2 separate regions of the Homo sapiens genome follow, and region 2 is linked to region 1. The links are contacts of gene promoters, found by promoter capture Hi-C in human tissues and cell types (Jung and others, 2019). All regions are on one chromosome and are shown on one strand. The core of a region is centred on a gene start or on the middle of the fragment in contact, and the rest is flanking DNA. Distances in the headings are between cores, read along the strand shown. Region 1 holds the start of EXOSC1 (exosome component 1). Region 2 overlaps UBTD1 (ubiquitin domain containing 1).

Region 1 (7,378 bases), core at 1,456-3,955:
TCTCGGCTCACTGCAACCTCCGCCTTCTGGGTTCAAGCAATTCTCCCTGCCTCAGCCTCCCAAGTAGCTGGGATTACAGGCACCTGCCACCTCGCCCAGCAAATGTTTGTATTTTTAGTAGAGACGGGGTTTCGCAATGTTGGCCAGGCTGGTCTTGAACTCCTGACCTCAGGTGATCTGTCTGCCTTGGCCTCCCAAAGTGCTGGGATTACAGGTGTGAGCGAACCACCATGCCCAGCTGCCCCCAAATATTTCCAATCCATGGTTGGATTGGATCAGCAATGTGAAACCCACAGGTATGAAGAGCAAACTTCTTTGGTAAGTGTAAATGAAATGTTTATAAAGCACTTAGCACAATACCCGGCTCATGGAAGTACTCAATAAATATTTGTTGAATGAATGACCTGGAGGGATGCAGAAGTGGAAAGCCTGGCCAGATGTCTATCTGTCCTACAAATACCAGCAAGGACACTCCTGCCAATGTGGTAACACTAAATAAGTGTCTGCTGTTATCATTCTTCCTGATTCATAAAGAGAGAAATACAAACTGTTATTAAAATCATGGCACTTAGGAGCTAGAAGTCGTTTTTGAAAACAAGCCCAACCAGAAATCAGCCCAACCGTGTAAACAGAAAGCTCCTAGACGCACAGATACAGATTTGGGTGAACAAAGTCTGAGGCTAGGGCCTCTCTCCATTAGCTAATGGGGTATGGGATGCCAGGAAAATTACATATGTAGTAAGTGGGCCGCAACTGAACACACAGACTTTTCTTTTTTTTTTTTTTTGAGATGGAGTTTCACTCTTGTTGCCCAGGCTGGAGTGCAATGGCACAATCTGGGCTCACCACAACCTCCGCCTCCTGGGTTCAAGCAATTCTCCTGCCTCAGCCTCCTGAGTGGCTGGGATTCCAGGCATGTGCCACCACGCCTGGCTAATTTTGTATTTTTTTAGTAGAGACCGGGTTTCTCCATGTTGGTCAGGCTGGTCTCAAACTCCCGACCTCAGGTGATGTGCTTGCCTCAGCCTCCCAAAGTGCTGGGATTGCAGGCGTGAGCCACCGCACCTGGCCCAGACTTTTCATCTCAAGAAATAGAAGTAAAGCAAAATTCAAAAAGATGTGTGTAGGGGAGAAGGGGCTAATCTCAGTGAACGGGAGGAAACAGAGCAAAGCGCAGCTTTACTACCACCCCAAGCACAAGCCCGAGTACTCTGATCCTTCAGTAATAGTCACAGGCCATACTGGTCATCTGCCACCAGACTGGAGGAGATTGCTGGCCACAACACTCCCCTCTTCCCATGGCTTTAAGTCACATCTGTTTCCCAATGGGAAAGTCGACTGAGGGGACAGGGAAGGACAGACGGCAAAGCCATCAGAAGTCAGGTGAACTGAGATCAAAGTCGTGGCGAATGTCATCTGGACAAAGACGCTGCTCTCAGGATGTTTGCAATCTCAAGTAGGAGATACCCAACATCAATAAAGAGTAGCATTTTATTCATGTGCAGACCTCCCTTCTGGGCTAACACGCTGAGAAGAAAAAGAGTAACAACTTTATTTTGGGGCTGCTTATCTTTTGATGACGGGCCCACACAACCAGAGTTCGGCTTTTTCAACCAGAGAAAGCTTACTGAAGTGGGGATGAGGGGCCGCGAAGAGGATCGGACCGCAGGACTGGAAGCTGCAGTTTAAAAAACCGGGAAAAGGCCGGAGGCAGTGGCTCATGCCTGTACTCCCTGCACTTTGGAAGGCCGAGGCGGGCGGATCAAGAGATCAAGACCATCCTGGCTAACATGGTGAAACCCCGTCACTACTAAAACTACAAAAATTAGCTGGGCGTGGTGGCGCGCGCCTGTAAGTCCCAGCTGCGCGGGAGGCTGAGGCAGGAGAATCGCTTGATGCCGGGAGGCGGAGGTTGCAGTGAACAGAGATCGCTCCACTGCACTCCAGCCTGGCGACAGAGCGAGACTCCTCAAAAACAAAACAAAAAAACCGGGAAAAGGTTTTATTTCTCAATGACAGCCGCGAGGTGAAACTGCGATGGACTGGAAGTCAAAAACCGTGGGTTCCAGTTTGGGCTCTATCTTAACTATCTTGATCATTTTGGACAAGTCAAACCCTGTCTCTGAATCTGAGGTTCCATATCTGTGAAACAGACGAGTTGGGTCGCTTGACCTCCTTCCCTCCTGCTCTGAGCGTAACGATTGCTCGGAAGGTGCGCTCGGGCTGAGGAGGGCACGGCCCCGCAGGGCGGGGCGAGGAGAGAGCAGGAACCCGCACTCAAGACAAGGCCCCAGGGCAGTGCCCTACCCAGAAAAAGGGACTAGGATGGGGAGCAAGGGCCGAGGCTTCGCCCTTACCTGCCGCCTGCCGACTCCCCAGTCAGCCAAACCGAGCCCCGTAGCCTCTGCCGCCGCTCACTGCCACCCCCTCCGACTCGGCGCCCCGGCCGGGCCCGGCTCAATCCAAACCACCATGGCCCGCCGCCCGCAGCGCCAGGCAGCGGACCCGGACCCGCCGCCAGCCCATCCTCAACCACACGCGCAGGCGCCAGCGTGGACCTCTGAAGTTCCGCCCCCGGATTTGTCCCGGGGTAACCTGGGAAATGGAGTTTACTCGCAAGGATAAAGAGTACCAATTGACACGTGTCTTACTGCGGAACTGTGCCTGGGTTTGGCCAATGAGAAATCGACTTCGTTTTCATCCTGGTTTTGGGACAGCGGCAATCATGGCGCCACCTGTGAGATACTGCATCCCCGGTAAGTGAGCGCTTCCCGTACAGAGTCCTGGATAGGGGCTGAAGCAAGAAGGCTAAACGGCCTACAGCTTCTGGGGGCCCGTGACCGATGCAGCATTTTTTCTGCAGGCGAACGTCTGTGTAACTTGGAGGAGGGCAGCCCGGGCAGCGGCACCTACACCCGCCACGGCTACATCTTTTCGTCGCTTGCCGGCTGTCTGATGAAGAGCAGCGAGAATGGCGCGGTAAAGGAAGCGGCATGCCATCTCCCCTCTGTTTTTCCCTTAGGCTGCCCTTGAGTTCCAGTCCTTAGGCATGGGCACTGCGGACGCGTCTTTAGTGCCTCAGTGGTACAATGTTGGTCTCTTAGTTTCTTCTAGCCGTATCGCCGCTGTGGTGCACTTAGCCACCACACACTAGTTGTGTTGATCTCGCTTGGTTGTGCTGCTGACCCTCGGGGAGGGAAGTTGGGACAAAAGCAGATGCGAACTCAGTATCCCATCCCAGCCCAGCTCAGCCCAGCAGTGAGTTGCATACTGTATGAATGTTGCTTACCTTTCCGACTTTATCTAGCGCCACTATCTCCACCTCACTGACGCAATCTAGTCATACTGTCTTTTCTGTGTTTAAAAGTTATAATCACAGTCTCTGCTTGCCCTTTAAAAATTTTTTATAACATACTAGCTTCTTTCAGTGTCGGTAATGCGCCAAGCTTTCTCCTGCTACAGAGCCTTTGTAACATGCCATCTATCTGGAACGCTTCTATCTTCCTAGGCCTATTTAATTCCTACCTCCTTTAGATAGCTTCTCTACTATCACCTCAGAGAAGTCCTTCTGGACCCACTAATTGAGGAAAGGAGTTTTGTGGGGTGTTTTGTTTTTGTTTGTTTTGTTAAAGACTCACAAAAAACTCTGTTCCTTTTCTTCCAAGCACTATGTCAGCATATGATGAGACACTCAGGTATATGTTTCCTACTAGACTTCTCCCCTGCTTAAATCTAAGTCCGTGAAAGCAGGCCCTACCACCATACCATCCGTATATAGCACAAGGCAGCTCCTCAATAAATGTTGAATGTGTGAGTAATACCTACCTTTCTAGTTTCAGAGATAGATCCAGGATTAGCTCAGGATCATATAAGCAATATTTGAAGGAGCACAATAGAAAGAGGATTCAGAATTAGAACAGTTACGTTCTGGCTAACTTGACTTTGATTCTGCTTTGAGTAAGTAACTTAAGCTGTCTGATTCAAGGGGCTTTCTATTCAGTCATTGTTGGGAATGTTCTTAACAGTCCTGAGTTTGTTCATTTCATAGATATCACTTGAGTATTTTCATGTGTCAGGCACAGCGCTGACTTGGTTTCTGCTATCAAAGGACACAGACACAAATTGTAAACAAATAAATGCTCAAATGAGCATATGGTTACATATGTGGTGGTGCTTTGAAAGAATATTACAGGGCACCTTGAGAACATGTAACAGGCAAACCCATCCTAGTCAGCAGAAGTGACATTTAAGCTGAATCATCTAAAGAGTAGGTAAGAGTCAGGTGGGTGGAGAGAGTGCAGCTCTGGCAGAAAGAATAGGTTGAAGAGAGATCTGAAAGTGGGAAGAATTTAGTAAGTTGGGGAAACTGAAAGAAGGCCAGGAGAGCTGAAGCATTGTGAGCAACGGAGAGATTGATAAAAGATGAGGCTCAAAATATCTGTCTTATACCAACAGCCAATACCATGCTCAAAGAGAAAACTCTGCAAGTATTCACTTAAAATAGAAGAAAACAAGCATAGCCGCTATTATGTAACATTTTTGTGGAAATTTCAGCCTGTGCAATAAAATAAGAAACAGAAGGAAGCAGTATAACTTTGGAGGAAAGAGTAAATTGTCGGCAGGGCGCAGTGGCTCACACCTGTAATCCCAGCACTTTGGGAAGCCAAGGCAGGTGGATCACCTGAGGTCAGGAGTTCGAGACCAGCCTGGCCAACATGGTGAAACCCCATCTCTACTAAAAATACAAAAAATTACCCGAGCATGGTGACAGGCTTCTGTAATCCCAGCTACTCGGGAGGCTGAGGCAGGAGAATCACTTGAACCCAGGAGGTGGAGGTTGCAGTGAACCAAGATGGCACCCTTGCACTCCATCCTAGGCAACAAGAGTGAAACTCCATTTCAAAAAAAAACAAAAAAAGTAAAATTGTCAATGATTATAGGCAATATAGTTGTATACCAAGAAATTCTGAGAGAATCACCAAAAAACTTATTAGAAGTTTAGAGATTTACTACAAAAAAAAGTAGCTGGGCATGGTGGCGGGTGCCTGTAGTCCCAGCTACTCGGGAGGCTGAGGCAGGAGAATGGCGTGAACCCGGGAAGTGGACCTTGCAGTGAGCCGAGATCGTGCCACTGCACTCCAGTCTAGGCGACAGAGCAAGACTCCGTCTCCAACAACAAAAAAAGAAGTTTAGAGATGTATGTCTTCTAGCAGCATTCTGTAGCCTCCTGGTCCTCCTATTTCCTAAAATTTCTAAGGCCTTCTGCTCTGGGCTATAAATGAATCCATACTCCAACTCTCACCTTTATACCAAGACATTCCTATATTACTCTCAAGCCACAAATGCCTTGACCCAAGGGTTAGTCAGGACATTTCAGTTTTTTGTTGTTCCCTCTGTAGCTTCCAGTGGTGTCTGTAGTGAGAGAAACAGAGTCCCAGTTACTGCCAGATGTGGGAGCTATTGTAACCTGTAAGGTAAGTTGGTCCTGACCTCCATGCTTAGAATGCCCATTCAATACTGAAATCATGACCATACCAGAACTGCAGTGTCCAGTATGATAGCCACAAGCTACATAAATTTATTTCTGGCAGGGCACAGTGGCTCACACTGGTAATTCTAGCACTTTAAGAGGCCGAGGCAGGAGGATTGCTTCAGCCCAGAGTTCAAGACCAGCCTGGGAAACATAGTGAAACCTCATCTCTACAAAAAGAATCAAAAATTGCCGGGCATGGTGGCTCATGCTTGTAATCCCAGCACTTTGGGAGGCCGAGGTGGGCAGATCACCTGTGGTCAGGAGTTCAAGACCAGCCTGGCCAATCATGGCCAACATGGTGAAACCCTGTCTCTACCAAAAATACAAAAATTAGCTTAGCGTGGTGGTGCATGCCTGTAATCCCAGCTACTCGGGAGGCTGAGGCAGGAGAAGTGCTTGAACCCAGGAGGTGGAGGTTGCAGTGAGCCTGCGTCACAGCAGTCCAGCCTGGGCAACAGAGTGAGACTCCGTCTCAAAAAAAAAGAAGAAGAAGAATAAAAAATTAGCCAGGCATGGTAGCACATGCTTGTGGTCCCAACTACTTGGGAGGCTGAAGCAGGAAGATCGCTTGGGCCCAGGGGGTTGAGGCTGCAGTGAGCCATGATCACTCCAGCTTGGGTAACAGGGCAAGACTCTGTCTCTCAAGAAAAAAATAAAATTGATTTCCTTAGTCACATTAGCCACATTTCAAGTACTCAATAGCCACTTGTGGCTAGTGGTTGCTATACTGGTCAGCACATGACTTTTCTGTCATCACAGAAAGTTTTACTGGACTGTGCAGGCTTACAGATTTCTAGGATAATAATCAAGGCAGCCAAGTTCAGGCATGCATAGTTCCTTCACTGAGCTGATTCCCTGAATACATAGTTCTACCTGTGTCTGGGAAACAGGGATGCCAGAGGATGATTAGGAGGCCTATTTTTGAACATCTGAAGCTGAGTTCTTTTTCTGCAGAGAAGCAAAAGACTTTATTTTTTGCCATTCCTGTTTTTTTTTTTTTGAGACAGGGCCTTGCTCTGTCACCCAGGCTGGAGTGCAGTGGCACGATCTCGGCTCACTGCAGCCTCTGGCCTCTTGGGTTCAAGCAATTCTACTGCCTCTGCCTCCCGAGTAGCTGGGATTATAGGCATGTGCTGCCACGCCTGGCTAATTTTTGTATTTTTAGTACAGGTGGGGTTTTACCATGTTGGCCAGGCTGGTCCTGAACTCCTGACCTCAAGTGATGCGCCCACCTCAGCCTCCCAAAGTGCTGGGATTACAGGCATGAGCCACTGTGTCCAGCCTCTTTTTTTTTTTTTTTTTTAATTGTTAGCCATCTATACTTTAAAAAGTCTATACCTCTCTGAAGGGCAAGTTGTGAAAAGATTTAAAAAAAAAAAAAAAAACCCAGCCGGATGCAGTGGCTTACACCTGTAATCCCAGCACTTTGGGAGGCTGAAGCAGGCGAATCACCTGAGATCAGGAGTTCGAGACCAGCCTGACCAACATGGAGAAACCCTGTCTCTACTAGAAATACAAAATTAGCTGGGCATGGTGGTGCATGCCTGTAATCCCAGCTATTCAGGAGGCTAAGGCAGGAGAATTATTTGAACCCAGGAGGCGGAGGTTGCGGTGAGCCAAGATCGCGCCATTGCACTCCAGCCTGGGCAACAAGAGTGAAACTCCGTCTCAAAAAAAAAAAAAAAAAAAAACCCATACCACCTTTGTTTCCCATAGTAACTCTACCAGGTGGCCAGAGTGGCTCTTATTCCTCTTTACATGTGTCACTTACGCAGAGAGAAGTAGGAGTTAATTTGTCTTAAATTCTCTACTTAGTAGGGTTGCTTGCACTGAAGCCCTAGTAAT
Region 2 (7,378 bases), core at 2,646-5,145, 81 kb before region 1:
CTCTTCCCTAGGTTCTATCCTTAGAAATCGACTCAGGACATAAAGAAAATATAGAATAAATATAACACTTCAAAAAAATCCTGTTTTTACTTCACACAGAATCATCTAATAAATATTTATTGAGCAAATATGTGCTGAGCACTATAAAGTATGCTTTTGTAAAAATTTTTTTGAGATGGGGTCTCACTCTGTAGCCCAGGCTGGAGTGCAGTGGCGCGACTGTAACTCACTGCAGCCTCAAACTCCTGGGCTCCAGCATTCCCCCTGCCTCAGCCTCCTGAGTCACTGGGATTAAAGGTGTAAGCCACCATGCACAGCTCAGGATGCATTTCTTATAATAAAGAGCTTGCATCATTCTTCATTCATTCATCGATTCATCCATCCATTCATTCATTCATTCATTCATTCAAGAAACATGTATTGAGCTTCTAGTATGCACCAGGCCCCGTGCTGGGGAACACGGACACAAAGTCACTAAGGCTCTCAAGGTCAGAGCTAGTGAGGGAGACAGACATGTCAGGAGATTGTTAGAAACTAATGCACACATGCAAGGGGAGTGATATGCACAGGAATCAGGGGGACACGTGAATGTGGTCTCACCCCCTCTGCGGAAGGTCTTAAAGTTTGCTCCAAGTACCAAAGAACAAGCTGGAGTTAGCCAGGCAAAAGGGCAAGGGGGCTGGGCTCGCCAGACAGAGGAGGCAGTGTGAGCCTACTCTGGGCTCAGGTTTGTGGAGCTGCAAGCAGTGCTGCCAGGTAGATCACACGAGGCAGGAGGTGGTCAGAATGAAGCCAAAGAAGGGCAGATCAGTCCCAGTCCCTCTCCCTCTCCCCACGGTCTCCCTCTCCCCACGGTCTCCCTCTCCCTCTCTTTCCACGGTCTCCCTCTCATGCCGAGCCGAAGCTGGACTGTGCTGCTGCCATCTCGGCTCACTGCAACCTCCCTGCCTGATTCTCCTGCCTCAGCCTGCCGAGTGCCTGCACGCCTGACTGGTTTTCGTTTTTTTTTTGGTGGAGACGGGGTTTCGCTGTGATGGCCGGGCTGGTCTCCAGCTCCTAACCGCGAGTGATCCGCCAGCCTCGGCCTCCCGAGGTGCCGGGATTGCAGACGGAGTCTCGTTAACTCAGTGCTCAATGGTGCCCAGGCTGGAGTGCAGCGGCGTGATCTCGGCTCGCTACAACCTCCACCTCCCAGCCGCCTGCCTTGGCCCCCCAAAGTGCCGAGATTGCAGCCTCTGCCCAGCCGCTACCCCGTCTGGGAAGTGAGGAGCGTCTCTGCCTGGCCGCCCATCATCTGGGATGTGAGGAGCCCCTTTGCCTGGCTGCCCAGTCTGGAAAGTGAGGAGCGTCTCTGCCCGGCCGCCATCCCACCTAGGAAGTGAGGAGCGCCTCTTCCCGGCCGCCATCCCATCTAGGAAGTGAGGAGCGTCTCTGCCCGGCCGCCCATCGTCTGAGATGTGGGGAGCGCCTCTGCCCCGCTGCCCCGTCTGGGATGTGAGGAGTGCCTCGGCCGGCCGCGACCCTGTCTGGGAGGTGAGGAGCGTCTCTGCCTGGCCACCCTGTCTGAGAAGTGAGGAGACCCTCCGCCCGGCTGCCACCCCGTCTGGGAAGTGAGGAGCGTCTCCGCCCGGCAGCCACCCTGTCCGGGAGGGAGGTGGGGGTCAGCCCCCGCCAGGCCAGCCGCCCCATCCAGGAGGGAGGTGGGGGGTCAGCCCCCCACCCGGCCAGCCGCCCCATCCGGGAGGTGAGGGGCGCCTCTGCCCGGCCGCCCCTACTGGGAAGTGAGGAGCCCCTCTGCCCGGCCAGCCGCCCCGTCCGGGAGGGAGGTGGGGGAGTCAGCCCCCCGCCCGGCCAGCCGCCCCGTCCGGGAGGGAGGTGGGGGGGGTCAGCCCCCCGCCCGGCCAGCCGCCCCGTCCGGGAGGGAGGTGGGGGGGGTCAGCCCCCCGCCCGGCCAGCCGCCCCGTCCGGGAGGGAGGTGGGGGTTCAGCCCCCCGCCCGGCCAGCCGCCCCGTTCGGGAGGGAGGTGGGGGGGTGAGCCCCCCGCCAGGCGAGCCGCCCCGTCCGGGAGGGAGGTTGGGGGTCAGCCCCCTGCCCGGCCAGCCGCCCCGTCCGGGAGGTGAGGGGCACCTCTGCCCGGCCGCCCCTACTGGGAAGTGAGGAGCCCCTCTGCCCGGCCAGCCGCCCCGTCCGGGAGGGAGGTGGGGGAGTCAGCCCCCCGCCCGGCCAGCCGCCCTGTCCGGGAGGGAGGTGGGGGGGTCAGCCCCCCGCCAGGCGAGCCGCCCCGTCCGGGAGGGAGGTTGGGGGTCAGCCCCCTGCCCGGCCAGCCGCCCCGTCCGGGAGGTGAGGGGCGCCTCTGCCCGGCCGCCCCTACTGGGAAGTGAGGAGCCCCTCTGCCCGGCCAGCCGCCCCGTCCAGGAGGGAGGTGGGGGAGTCAGCCCCCCGCCCGGCCAGCCGCCCCGTCCGGGAGGGAGGTGGGGGGGTCAGCCCCCCGCCCGGCCAGCCTCCCCGTCCGGGAGGGAGGTGGGGGAGTCAGCCCCCCGCCCAGCCAGCCGCCCCGTCCGGGAGGTGAGGGGCGCCTCTGCCCGGCCGCCTCTACTGGGAAGTGAGGAGCCCCTCTGCCCGGCCACCACCCCGTCTGGGAGGTGTACCCAGCAGCTCATTGAGAACGGGCCATGATGACAATGGCGGTTTTGTGGAATAGAAAAGGGGGAAAGGTGGAAGATTGAGAAATCGGATGGTTGCTGTGTCTGTGTAGAAAGAAGTAGACATGGGAGACTTTTCATTTTGTTCTGTACTAAGAAAAATTCTTCTGCCTTGGGATCCTGTTGATCTATGACCTTACCCCCAACCCTGTGCTCTCTGAAACATGTGCTGTGTCCACTCAGGGTTAAATGGATTAAGGGTGGTGCAAGATGTGCTTTGTTAAACAGATGCTTGAAGGCAGCATGCTCGTTAAGAGTCATCACCACTCCCTAATCTCAAGTACCCAGGGACACAAACACTCTGCCTGGAAAACCAGAGACCTTTGTTCACTTGTTTATCTGCTGACCTTCCCTCCTATTGTCCTATGACCCTGCCAAATCCCCCTCTGCGAGAAACACCCAAGAATGATCAATAAAAAAATAAAATAAAAATAAAAATAAATAAATAAATAAATAAATAAAAAAGAAGGGCAGATCAGTGAGGGCCTCTGGGCCAGTGACACAACTTGGACATTATGCCCTAAGGGATGGGAGAGCCTCTGAAGGGGCAAAGCCAAGGAAGGATAGGCACTCTTTTTCTTTTTGAAATTTTTTGTATAGATAGGGTTGCCCAGGCTGGTCTCAAACTCCTGGACTCAAGTGATCCTCCTGCGTTGGCCTCCCAACGCATATGGGATTATAGGCATAAGCCACCGCAGCCTGCCAAGGCAGGCTTTTTTTTTTTTTTTTTTTTTTTGGAGACAAGAGTTTCGCTTTGTTGCCTAGGCTGGAGTGCAGTGGCACGATCTTGGCTCACTCCAACCTCCGCCTCCTGGTTCAAGCAATTCTCATGCCTCAGCCTCCTGAGTAGCTGGTATTACAGGTGCCTGTCACCACGCCTGGTTAATTTTCATATTTTAGTAGAGACAGGGTTTTCCTATGTTGCCCAGGCTGGTCTTGAACTCTTGAGCTCAGGTAATCCACCCGTCTCAGCCTCCCAAAGTGCTGGGATTACAGGTGTGAGCCACCACGCTCGGCCTAAGAGAGGCATTTCTTTTTTTTTTTTTTTTTTTTGAGACGGAGTCTTGCTCTGTCACCCAGGCTGGAGTGCAGTGGCGTGATCTTGGCTCACTGCAACCTCTGCCTCCCAGGTTCAAGCAAGCAATTCTCCTGCTTCAGCCTCCCAAGTAGCTGGGACTACCGGTGCATGCCACCATGCCCGGCTGACTTTTGTATTTTTAGTAGAGATGGGGTTTCACCATGTTGGCCAGGCTGGTCTTGAATTCCTGACCCCAAATGATATGTAAGGCAGGCATTTTTGATTGTTCACTCTGGAATCCATGTGGAGAGTGGGTTTAAGGAGTCTTGAATGAAGGCAGGAAGATCAGTTAAGAGGCTGCTGCATTAGAAGAGGAGCGAAAAAACAGGGGCCTGGACTCAGATTTTATTGTGTCGATCATGGTAGGCAGAGTTTTAGTGGGATGGAGATGAGAGGATGGATTTGAGAAGTCCTTGAGTCACACATTTAGACTTTCCATTTTTCACGCTAGAATCAAAGTCTTAGTGCATAAAGCTTTGCACACACTTCGGCTTCATTCTCTATGATAAAGTCCTTGTTGTGGAATTTCTAGGTCAAAGAGCAGGGATAGTTTTAAGGTTCTTGTTACCTTTTGCCAAATTGCTTTCCAGAAAGACTATCAATTTTCACTTCCACCAGCAGTGCACAAGAGTGCTTGTTAGACCCTTAGGGATGAAGCCCTGCCAGAGATCGAATCCTCTGCTTCGCCCCAAACACAATGACTGCGAATAGGCTTCCAGACTACACAAATGGCACATCAGTCTGCAGGGTAAGTTGCTTTGGAGCTGACCTAGGGCCAGGGAAGTGGCACTCTCTCCCCACTCTGACCATCTTCCTTGCTGCTGCCAGGAACCTTGTTAATAGTGATTATGTCACTCCCCTGCTCAAAAACTTTCTATGGCTCCCCACTACCTAAAAATAAAAGCCAAACACCTTAGCATGGAAATCAAGTCTTTCCAAAAATATGATCTTCAGTCCACATTACCACATTCCCATAAATTCATTTATTCATTCAACAAATATTTGAGGACCCAGTATTTACCCATACAAAACAAAGTCCTTGCTCTCCCGCAGTTTACATTCTAGCAGGAGAGACAGACAATGCACAAGGCCATCTAGAGTATGTCAGGTATTTATATGTCATCCCCAAGTTAAGCAGAAAAATACAGTGATTAGAATTGAGAATGGGGGACCAGAGAAGGCCTCTAATATGGAGATGGGTGCAGAGGCCAGTGGAGGGAGAAGTGAGCCGCATAGACAGCTGGGACCTGTTCTCTCACTCACTTCCACTAGGCTCAGACCACACCTGAGCCACTAGCCCTCCATGAGCTTCCAAGTCTCCATGCCTTTGCTATTGGTTTTCTCTCCCGAAGATACCCCATCTTTTGAAATAGAAAATGTCGGCGCCCAGCTAGAATGTCACCTCTTCTGTGAAGCCCTCCTAATTCCTCAGCCACACTGCTCTCAGCACTTCATTCCATTTTCCAGTCCACCCAACTGCGAGCATATGGAGGCCCCAGGTGGTCTTTTAGCTCTCTATCTGCGGTGCCCAGCATACAACAAAAGAGATTCTCTGTTTTGGCATTTACAGATTGTCTGGGTTCCACACACACCCTCTCCAGACTACACTGTGAGTTGCTAAAAGGCAGAAATTGCCTTCTTTGGCTTCTGGTCCCCTAAGTTGGTGCAGCATAGTCTGGCACACAGATGTTTCCCAAGGAAGGGGGCACATGTGCAAGTTGCCAAAGAGTGTGGGCACATGACTAGCAGGGAGGCATATTCTTCTCTCAGCACACACAAGTGAAAATACTCTCCATCTTCTGTAGTGAGGCTGTTAGTTACCTACCCAAAGCCACTTTCCCCTTCTTCATGGCCACACAACAGCCCAGGCAGACATTTCTCAGCCTTGCTTGCAGCCAGGGAGGCCATGTGACTATGCTGCACATGGGCCATGGAGGACCAGGGCCTAGGGAAGGTAGGCAGGCCTCCTCCACCCTTTCTTCCCCCTCCACTGGCTGGAGCCCAGACATGGCTGCAACCCAACTTCAACCATGCAAACAACAATGTTCTATGATGTGGCAGCAACTTCAAAAAAACAGGATCCCAGGTGACCACAAGGAGCCGAGCTGCCCCCTCACTTGGTCTGTTCACGTTGAGGACATCAGGGCCATTACATGAGACAGAAAAACAAACTCCTCATTCTTTAAGCCACTGTATCATTAGACCCCTTCAACGCAGCAGGGCAGCTTTCCACAAAGAAATGCACCTGCCTTCATAGGGTGAGCAGAGCATCAATGAGACATAAGTCATCGTAGTCCTCAAAAACCTGTCTTGGTGCCTCCAGGAGGAATGGTGAATCCTGTTCCCAGCCAACCCCTACGATTTGGGAGTATCAGGAAGAGGGGGCTAGAAGAAGGAGGTGTGCCAGTCAGGGTAAAAACTCTATGGGGGACCGGGCTTGGTGGCTCATGCTTGTAATCCCAGCACTTTAGGAGGCTGAGGTGGGTGGACTGCTTGAATCCAAGAGTTCGAGACTAGTCTGGGCAACATAGTGAGACCCCCCCGCATCCCTACAAAAACATACAAAAATTAGCCAGGGATGGTGGCGCATGCCTATGGTCCCAGCTACTCTAGAGGCTAAAGTGGGAGGATCACCTGAGCCTGGGAGGTAGAGGCTGCAGTGAACCATAATCGCGCCACTGCACTCCAGCCTGGGTGACAGAGCGAGGAACCCATAAGGAGCAGGGGCACTGTGATCAGGGTGGGAGGGCAGCCTCGGAGCCCATGGCAGGTTTAAAAGCCAAGTCCTGCTGCTAAAGAAGGGCTGAGGAACACAAAACCAAATGCACACAAACATTCATTCTAGCCCCTCTTACGGGTCTCCCCACACTCATCCTGCTGGCTGTCACGGAGGCAGAACTGCAGAAAACAGTAAATGGGGAAGGGGCATCATCTCACTGGCTCCAGCTGCCACAGAAGCAGCAGGAACAAGGGACGTCGGGTCTTCAGCAGTCTCACGAGGCCACAGAGACCAACAGTCCTGCCTTAATTCTGGGTCTGCTACACCCTGCACCACCTCAACTCTGAACTCTGATGTCCACCAAGTTACACCCAAAGAAGGTACAAAGACAGAGGAAAAATACCGCCCCCATCCCCAGCCCCCAGGTGCCCAAATCATCTTCCCAACTATCCTGGCTCTACCAAGCTCAAGTCCCTGCCTGCCAGCTCTAGCCCACCTTCTACAACCATCGCTTCATGTTGATGCCAGGTGCTGGGCTCAGTGCTAGCAAGGAAACAGTGGAGAAGACAGGCCCTGCAGACAGGCTGCAAAGACCAGGAGGAGTTGGGCTCTGGAGCCAAGCAGAAGAGGATTCTCATTCTGACCCCAACCAGTAACTGGCCCGGTGACCCTAGCAAGCTTTAGTTCTCCAATCTGTAAAATGGAGATGAATGATGCCACACCACCAGGTGCTGGGAGAACACAATAGTCTGTGCCTGGAGCATGGAAGACACTCCGCAAATGCCCATTTCCCTCTATTGCTCCCAGATGGCCACCTTGTTGACCTGCCACAATTCATGAAATTCCCACCTTCAGGGTGAAGACACTGTCTATAAAATG

Evidence for each region. The method cuts DNA at HindIII sites, captures the fragments that hold promoters and counts their contacts. A contact is called where the count stands out against the background at its distance.
Region 2: a contact is called between a fragment that was not itself captured here and the fragment with the promoter of EXOSC1 in region 1, in 2 of the 25 tissues and cell types used here (mesenchymal stem cells and pancreas).

Annotation. Positions count from the first base shown.
Region 1 is chr10:97,441,333-97,448,710 of GRCh38, reverse strand. It overlaps EXOSC1 (exosome component 1), which reads left to right and starts at 2,705. Exons shown (of 8, transcript NM_016046.5): 1 at 2,705-2,756; 2 at 2,864-2,979; 3 at 5,400-5,474. The coding sequence starts at 2,726. ZDHHC16 (zDHHC palmitoyltransferase 16) reads right to left here and starts at 2,536. Exons shown (of 12, transcript NM_198046.3): 1 at 2,358-2,536. RefSeq lists a silencer at 2,275-2,484 and enhancers at 2,416-2,995, 2,996-3,576. The HindIII fragment of the contact is 7,908 bases long and covers 1-6,404 here.
Region 2 is chr10:97,523,232-97,530,609 of GRCh38, reverse strand. The region is part of intron 1 of UBTD1 (ubiquitin domain containing 1); the gene reads right to left. Among named protein-coding and RNA genes, the nearest start is that of UBTD1, 28 kb to the right of the region's middle. The HindIII fragment of the contact is 3,642 bases long and covers 2,075-5,716 here.